2 separate regions of the Homo sapiens genome follow, and region 1 is linked to region 2. Evidence: promoter capture Hi-C in human tissues and cell types (Jung and others, 2019). All regions are on one chromosome and are shown on one strand. The core of a region is centred on a gene start or on the middle of the fragment in contact, and the rest is flanking DNA. Distances in the headings are between cores, read along the strand shown. Region 1 holds the start of TMEM200B (transmembrane protein 200B). Region 2 holds the start of OPRD1 (opioid receptor delta 1).

What was found. The method cuts DNA at HindIII sites, captures the fragments that hold promoters and counts their contacts. A contact is called where the count stands out against the background at its distance.
Region 1: a contact is called between the fragment with the promoter of TMEM200B here and the fragment with the promoter of OPRD1 in region 2, in 1 of the 25 tissues and cell types used here (adrenal gland).

The regions. Positions count from the first base shown.
Region 1 is chr1:29,122,407-29,125,503 of GRCh38, reverse strand. TMEM200B (transmembrane protein 200B) reads left to right here and starts at 1,601. Exons shown (of 2, transcript NM_001003682.4): 1 at 1,601-1,648. RefSeq lists enhancers at 1-467, 468-1,327, 1,328-2,187. The HindIII fragment of the contact is 25,455 bases long and covers 1-3,097 here.
Region 2 is chr1:28,810,714-28,813,780 of GRCh38, reverse strand. It overlaps OPRD1 (opioid receptor delta 1), which reads right to left and starts at 1,611. Exons shown (of 3, transcript NM_000911.4): 1 at 1,171-1,611. The coding sequence starts at 1,397. The HindIII fragment of the contact is 21,122 bases long and covers 1-3,067 here.

The DNA.
Region 1 (3,097 bases), core at 352-2,851, 310 kb before region 2:
TGCTTGGGTGGACAAAGGGCCCTTCACAGAGCTGGAGGCAGGGGATGATCGAGGGGCCCAGGGAGTCAGACTAGAAGCCGGGCTTATTGGAGGAAGAGCAGTGGGCTGGGAGAGGCAGGCATGGAGTGGGATTGAGGGAGCCCAGGGGTGGGAGGGAGAGCTGGGAGGCGGAGGTGCGACCGCGGTGGGGTCAGTGTGCGGGGAGTGGACGAAGCGGAGGATTGATGGGGGCGGGGGTCCCAAGCAAAGATGCTGGAGGGAGGCCTCCGTGGAGCGGACCGAGACCTCAGGAGCCTCCAGTCGGACTGGGGAGGCAAGAAGGAGGCCCTGGCTTCGATCTCGCACACGGCCTCGCAGGGATGAAGCCCGGGAGCCGAGGCTCGGTCTTCCCCACTGTGGTCCCTCTGGTCCGCCCGTTACCTCACCGACCCCCCGAGGGGGCTTTTAAGAGCTGGAAGAGGGGGTCCCGGGGGGCACTGATGCACCCCCACTCTCCTCCGCCGACCCAGAGGGTGGGAGCTCAGGTTCAAGGCCTGGCCTGGCCGTGCGGCTCCGGGACCCGGCTCCGCCCCGCGTCGGGGGGTGGCCCCGGCCCCTGGCCCGCCCCTTCCTCGGGTCCCCTCCCTGTCCGCGGCGCGCAGCCGGGTCTCATTAGCGCCCCTCCCCCCGGCTGCGCGCCGGGGGTCTCCACGGCCGGGGGGAGGGGCGGGCCTTAATCAATCCTAGGCCGGAAATTCCTCCCGGGGGGCCCGGCCTGACCGCTGAGCCTGGAAATCGGTCGCCGCCTCCCCCGAACCCGCCCCCCGCATCATGGAAACTGGGCCGACCGCCGGCCGCCCTGGCTCCCCCGCTCTGCATTCCTGCCTCCAGGGGCGGGAGGGCGCGAAGGCCGGGCCGCCCCCTTCGGGCTCGCCGGCGGGGTCGCAGCTCTCAGCACCCTCCCCGTTATTGGGAACAAGCCCGCTCCCCCACTGGCGAAGGGGCGCCTGTTCTTAGGAGTACCCGGCGGCACATCCGCACCCCGTCCGGTCCTTTCAGCTACAAGGCCCGCCCCTCCCCGGGCGCTGCTTTCGCTGAGGGCTTTGCGGAGTCGCCCCGGGCTGGCCCTTGGCGTCTGGCTCTTGCCTCTCGGCATCTTGCGAGGCTGAAGCCTTGGTGCCCATTGCACAGATGAAGTCCGCGAGGTTCAGCGACAGCAAGGGCTGCGGGACCGGGGCAGAGCAGGGACTCGGGCCGCCTCCTCCTGGAAGCTCCCCGGGCGCCTGGGATGAGGGGCTCTGGGAAGCGGGGAAGGACGTGCGGGTGTCGGGGCTCCTGGGTCCCGGGTCTCAGTTTCCCCATGTAGGAAGGGGTCGCCTTTGTGGGCCTTTGCGACCGATGTAAGCTGGGGGTGGGAGAGTGGGGATGGCAGAACTCGGGCCACGGGTGCCCGGAGTCACCAGGCGCGCACAGGGCGCCTACCTGCGATCCTTTGACCTGAGCTGCCGCCTTTCAGCGGCGGTGGGGCCGGGCCCGGCGCGGGTCGGACGGTCCCGGGGGCTGGAGGCGGGGCCGGGGCGGGGCTGGGGCCGGGCCGTGGAGACCCGGGCGGCTCTGGAGCCTCCGCGCGCGGACTGGGACCCGGACCCGCGCGGCGCTGCGGCGCCAGGTGAGCCGAGCTGGGGTCCAGGGGTCCGCACTCCACTTTTCCCAACTTTTCGTTTGGTCCCTCCCTCCCTCCCTCCCTCCCTCGGTCAGGGCCCCTGGGGGCGGGAGCGCGGCCCTCCCGTTCCCCCAGGCGGGAGTGTGGACGCGGGCGGTGGCGGGACCCTGGAGTCCTGGGGACTCGGCCCCAGCATCTTCTGTCGGGCTGTGCGCTGTGTCCCCAAGTTTCCGCCTCCCTGGTGTCCCCAGCGTCGGCCCACTACCTCCACGGCTCGGGGTCTCTGAGCGTGTCCCCATGTCCCCACTCTGCTTGTTTTCGCTTCCCTCGCGGCAGCGACGCGCGGGGCTCCGGGTGACCTTGCTGGAGCCGGGGCTGAGAGCGCCAGTTCTGGCTTGAAGCGATGATCGCTCCTCCGGTTGCGGGCTGGGGAAAGGGCTGCAAACTCAGGGACAAGGAGGGGATGGGCCTCGCTTCCTCCTGGATACTCCCGTGGCTGTCCTGAGAGGGGTCTAGGGCTGGGGCCCCGGAGCCCGGCGTCGGACCTGGCAGAGCCCCCGCCTAGTGCGGGGTCGGGCAGTCTCCCCGGCCTCCCTGGGCCGTAGTTGCAATCTGTGAAACCAGGCTTTGGACGCGGGAGAGTGGCGGCTCCCTGCTAGGCCCGGGCCTTGAGCGCTCCAGTCGGAGGCAGGGATGGGTGTCCTGCTTTGAGGTTTGGGGTGCAGATGGGGCGTGGGTCGGGGAGCAAGGCCGCCTCCCCGAGGTTTCGGCTGCGGGCTCCAGCGCGGTGGTTCTTTAGGAAGCGGACGCGAGCAGTGAGGACGACCCTGGACAGCTAGGCCCTGAGCCTCCTCTCCTGCGGCCTGGGGCGCCTGGGCGGGGGCCGCGTCTTCTCCCTCGCCCTCCCTTTCGTGGGGGCCACACCGCACGCAGCTCGGCTACTCCTGCTGGGCCCGGGATCCAGGCCACAGGCCGCAGGCAGGGCGCGGCCAGCAATCGGGAGGGCTTAAGCTGTGCGGCCCGGATCCCGAGGCGCAGGGGCGGTGCTGCTCTGACCGGGCCACGGGCCACGGAGGCCTCGGGCGGAGGAGGCGGGAAAGGAGGCCAGGCGGCGGGAAAGGGGGATGATTCATCCGGAGGAGCCCGAATTGGAAACGTCGCAACCTGGGAACAGCCTTGCCCGGGCCGACGGGGGAGCCGGGAGGGCATCCGTCCGGCGGGGCCCAGCGCCCGGCACCGGCACCCCCGCCTGCTGCCGTGGCCCCAGCACGACCGCTGGGGGAGGGAGAGGCCTCTCATGCGTGGACTTGATGGAAATCTTGGGCGAAGTCGGCGCCGCCTCTCCTCCTCTGCCTGGCTGGTCTTGATCCGAGCGGTCTTCCCGGTGTCTAGCTCAAGTCGCTCCTGCTGCAGCTTCGCTGCGGGCGGAGGAGGTCTGGAAGGAGGGGGCGGGCA
Region 2 (3,067 bases), core at 362-2,861:
CCTATGCCCTGCATGGTGGCACCCACAGCCCAGAGAGGTTTAGGGCCATGTCCTTGGTCCACCAGCATGAAGGACCCATTTTCAACTAACAGCAAATACGAGGGCATCTTTGTTGTTTTAAAGATGGAAATTTTCCTCTCAACCCTTACTGGCCATGTCTGAGCTTGTGGGGCTGTATCAGGAGGGCTACTTCTGGGGCAAGCTGACGTCTTAGGCTCTCTGAGAAGGTCCCAGCACTCTCCATAAACTCCAAGAAGAGCACCTCACTTCCTGGGATGAAAACTCAAAATCCACTCCCGCCCAGACCAACCTCTGCTGCCTCTGGCAGAAGAAAAGACTGTTAGAGGAGGCAAAGAGAAAATGGGAGAGGGCATTTGTGAGGAGGGCGTGAGTCTTCTCTGAATCCTATTCAGAATTCCTGACCAGATGGGCACTGGCGAAGGGAACAGAGAACCGGTTGGCGGCCCACAGCTGTCGCCCATGTTATCCAGGAATCACTGGCAAAGGCACACACAGCTGCACAAACACAGGGACGACGGCCACTCCGGATGCTCTGCCGCCCTCGGGGTTTCAAGAGCTTGACAAGAAACAACAGTCACATTGTTACATTCAGACAGAATCACAAACTGACCGTTAGGGACAAGCTCACACCAACAGATGAGCACCAAATATGACTTGGTAAGGGCCCCACGGCGAGGTGCTGACACCCAGCACCCTCCTGTCCGCCCTGCCTGCACGGTGCCCTCACACCGGTCTCCCCAAAGGCCCGCGGCACCTCAGAGCAGCTCTGCCCACCCCATGGGCATGTTTCCGACGTCCAAACATACAGTTGTACTGTCACAACCATCCACTCACAAACTGTGACAGACACACAAACTGACGCCAAACTGTCCCACAAAGAAGCAAGGGGATGCCAACAGATGATCAAATGTAATTTAGTCAACCGCGGCGCACTCCCCCCCCCGCACCACACACACACATACACACGATGACACACATTCCTGTGTTCCCCTCGATGTAAGTGGCCTCGCCTCTCGCTGGGCCCCAGGTGCCCCTGCAGGAAATGCGGAGGCGCGGGGAGTCCAGGGAACGGGCTTGGGGTCTCAAGTTCGTGATCCCCACCCTCACCCCGGGCTCCAGCCCTGCGGCGCCGGCCCGCAGCGGACTCACCGGACGATGCCGAACATGACAAGCACGTTGCCCAGCAGCCCCACGGCGCACACGGCCGAGTAGAGCGCGGTGATGGCGATTGCCAGGGCGAGGGACGAGGCGCTCCGCGCGCCTGGCGGCCCCGACGCATTGGCGCCAGCGCTGGGGCAGGCGCTAGGGTAGGCGTCCGAGGCGTTGGCGAAGAGCGGGGGCTGCAGCTCGGCGCCGGCGGAGGGGGCCGGTTCCATGGCTGCCGGCCGGCTCCGCCGCGTCCCTCTCCACCGTGCGCCCTGGGCGCGGGGATCCGACGCGAGGGGAGCGGCAAGGCAGAGGCCGCGGCCCCGACGCCGCCGGCTGCCGCGCCCCGGCCGCCCCGCTGTCTCTGCGCCTCGTCCGCCTGCCTCGCCGCCCGCACCGGCCCAGCCCCCGGCGTCCGCCCGCTCTCCTCGCCCGGAGCGCTGTGAGCCAGGAGCAGCCGCAGGCTCCTCGGACGCGCCCGCCGCGCGCACCACGTGGCCCGGAGGCGGCCGCCAGTCTGCGCCCGCGACCGGGGGCGGACGCTGCACCACCGGCTCGGAGCTGGGCAGGGGAGGCCTCCCGCCCCCTCCCTAGGGATGCTCCGCCGGCTCGAGTGCGACCCCGTCCCAACCTGGACTCCCCTCCCACCCCCTTGCCACTTTGGTGTCAGAGGGACCTGGGTGTGGATCCCGCCTCCCGCCCCTGCACTAACAGGCGGAGTGACCTTGTGTAAGTCACTTAACCTCCCTCAGCTTCATTCTCTTTGTCTGTGAGATGAGGAAAATCGTACCACCTCCCTCAGAGGGTGGTTGGGGAGATTGAATAAAATGATTCGAACAAAGAGCTTAGAGCAGTGCCCTGCGGACAGTTACATGCTCCGTAAATAACCTATATTATCCGTGCCTTTCTTGCACCCCATTCATTCGCTCAACAAAAATTCTGAGGGTGCCTAATAGAAGAGCCGGGTATTTGGGGGGACCCTCTAGTACACAAAACCAGATGCAGCCTCTGCTTCCTGGGGCTTACAGCCCAGTGCAGGAGAGAGAGCGAGCAACCCTAAAATGACATTAAGATATAGGTACGAATTGAGAAAGTGGCAGGGTCTACAAAACCCAGGGGTCAGGACAGCTTCCCTGGGGAAACGACACTTGAGGTGAGGTGTGAAGTTTGGGGAAGAACTAACTTAAGGAAGTAACAAGGGAAGAGGATTCCGGATAAAGGAAGCAGAGGGACTGAAAGGAAGCCAGGAAGAGGAGAAGGCAGGAAGTGAGGGGGCGATGAGGTGGTGGGCAGGCTCTTGAAGACCACCTTAAGGAGCACTCTGGCTGCAGTGCGAGCAGATAGAAGGGGGGCACTTGGCTAAGTCATCCTTGCCACACCCCTTCCAAGACCTAACCATTCCAGATTAGAGCCATCCTTCTTCTTGGGGTGCCTAGCCTTTCCAGAACATTCTACCAAGCATTACTTTGCTCCAGGCACTGTGATAAGCACTTTATCCATGCACCAACACTTTGGTGTAGCTTCTATTATTATTGTCCCCATGTTACAGATTTAGTGCTCAGCACTAAATTATCCCATATAGTAATTATTTCTATCCGAACTGGTCTCCCTCCTTAAAGGGACCAGGTCTGATTGACCCCTGCATCCAGGAGAGGGCTGGGGTCACAGCAGGTGCTCAAGAAATACTTTTTGGATAATAAAGATCCCAAAGGGAACTGGAGTGGAACAATATTAGGGGTTCTGAGCTCTAGGCTCTGGGGCAATGCTCTTGGATCTGTGTGTGGCTGGACAAGGAGCTCTCCCTCATCTCACCCTCTAGCTTGAATCATCCATATATGTGCAAGGCTCCTACCCTTTCCCAGAAAAAAGCAAAGCCAGAATTCCCAAGCTCACCCTCTTC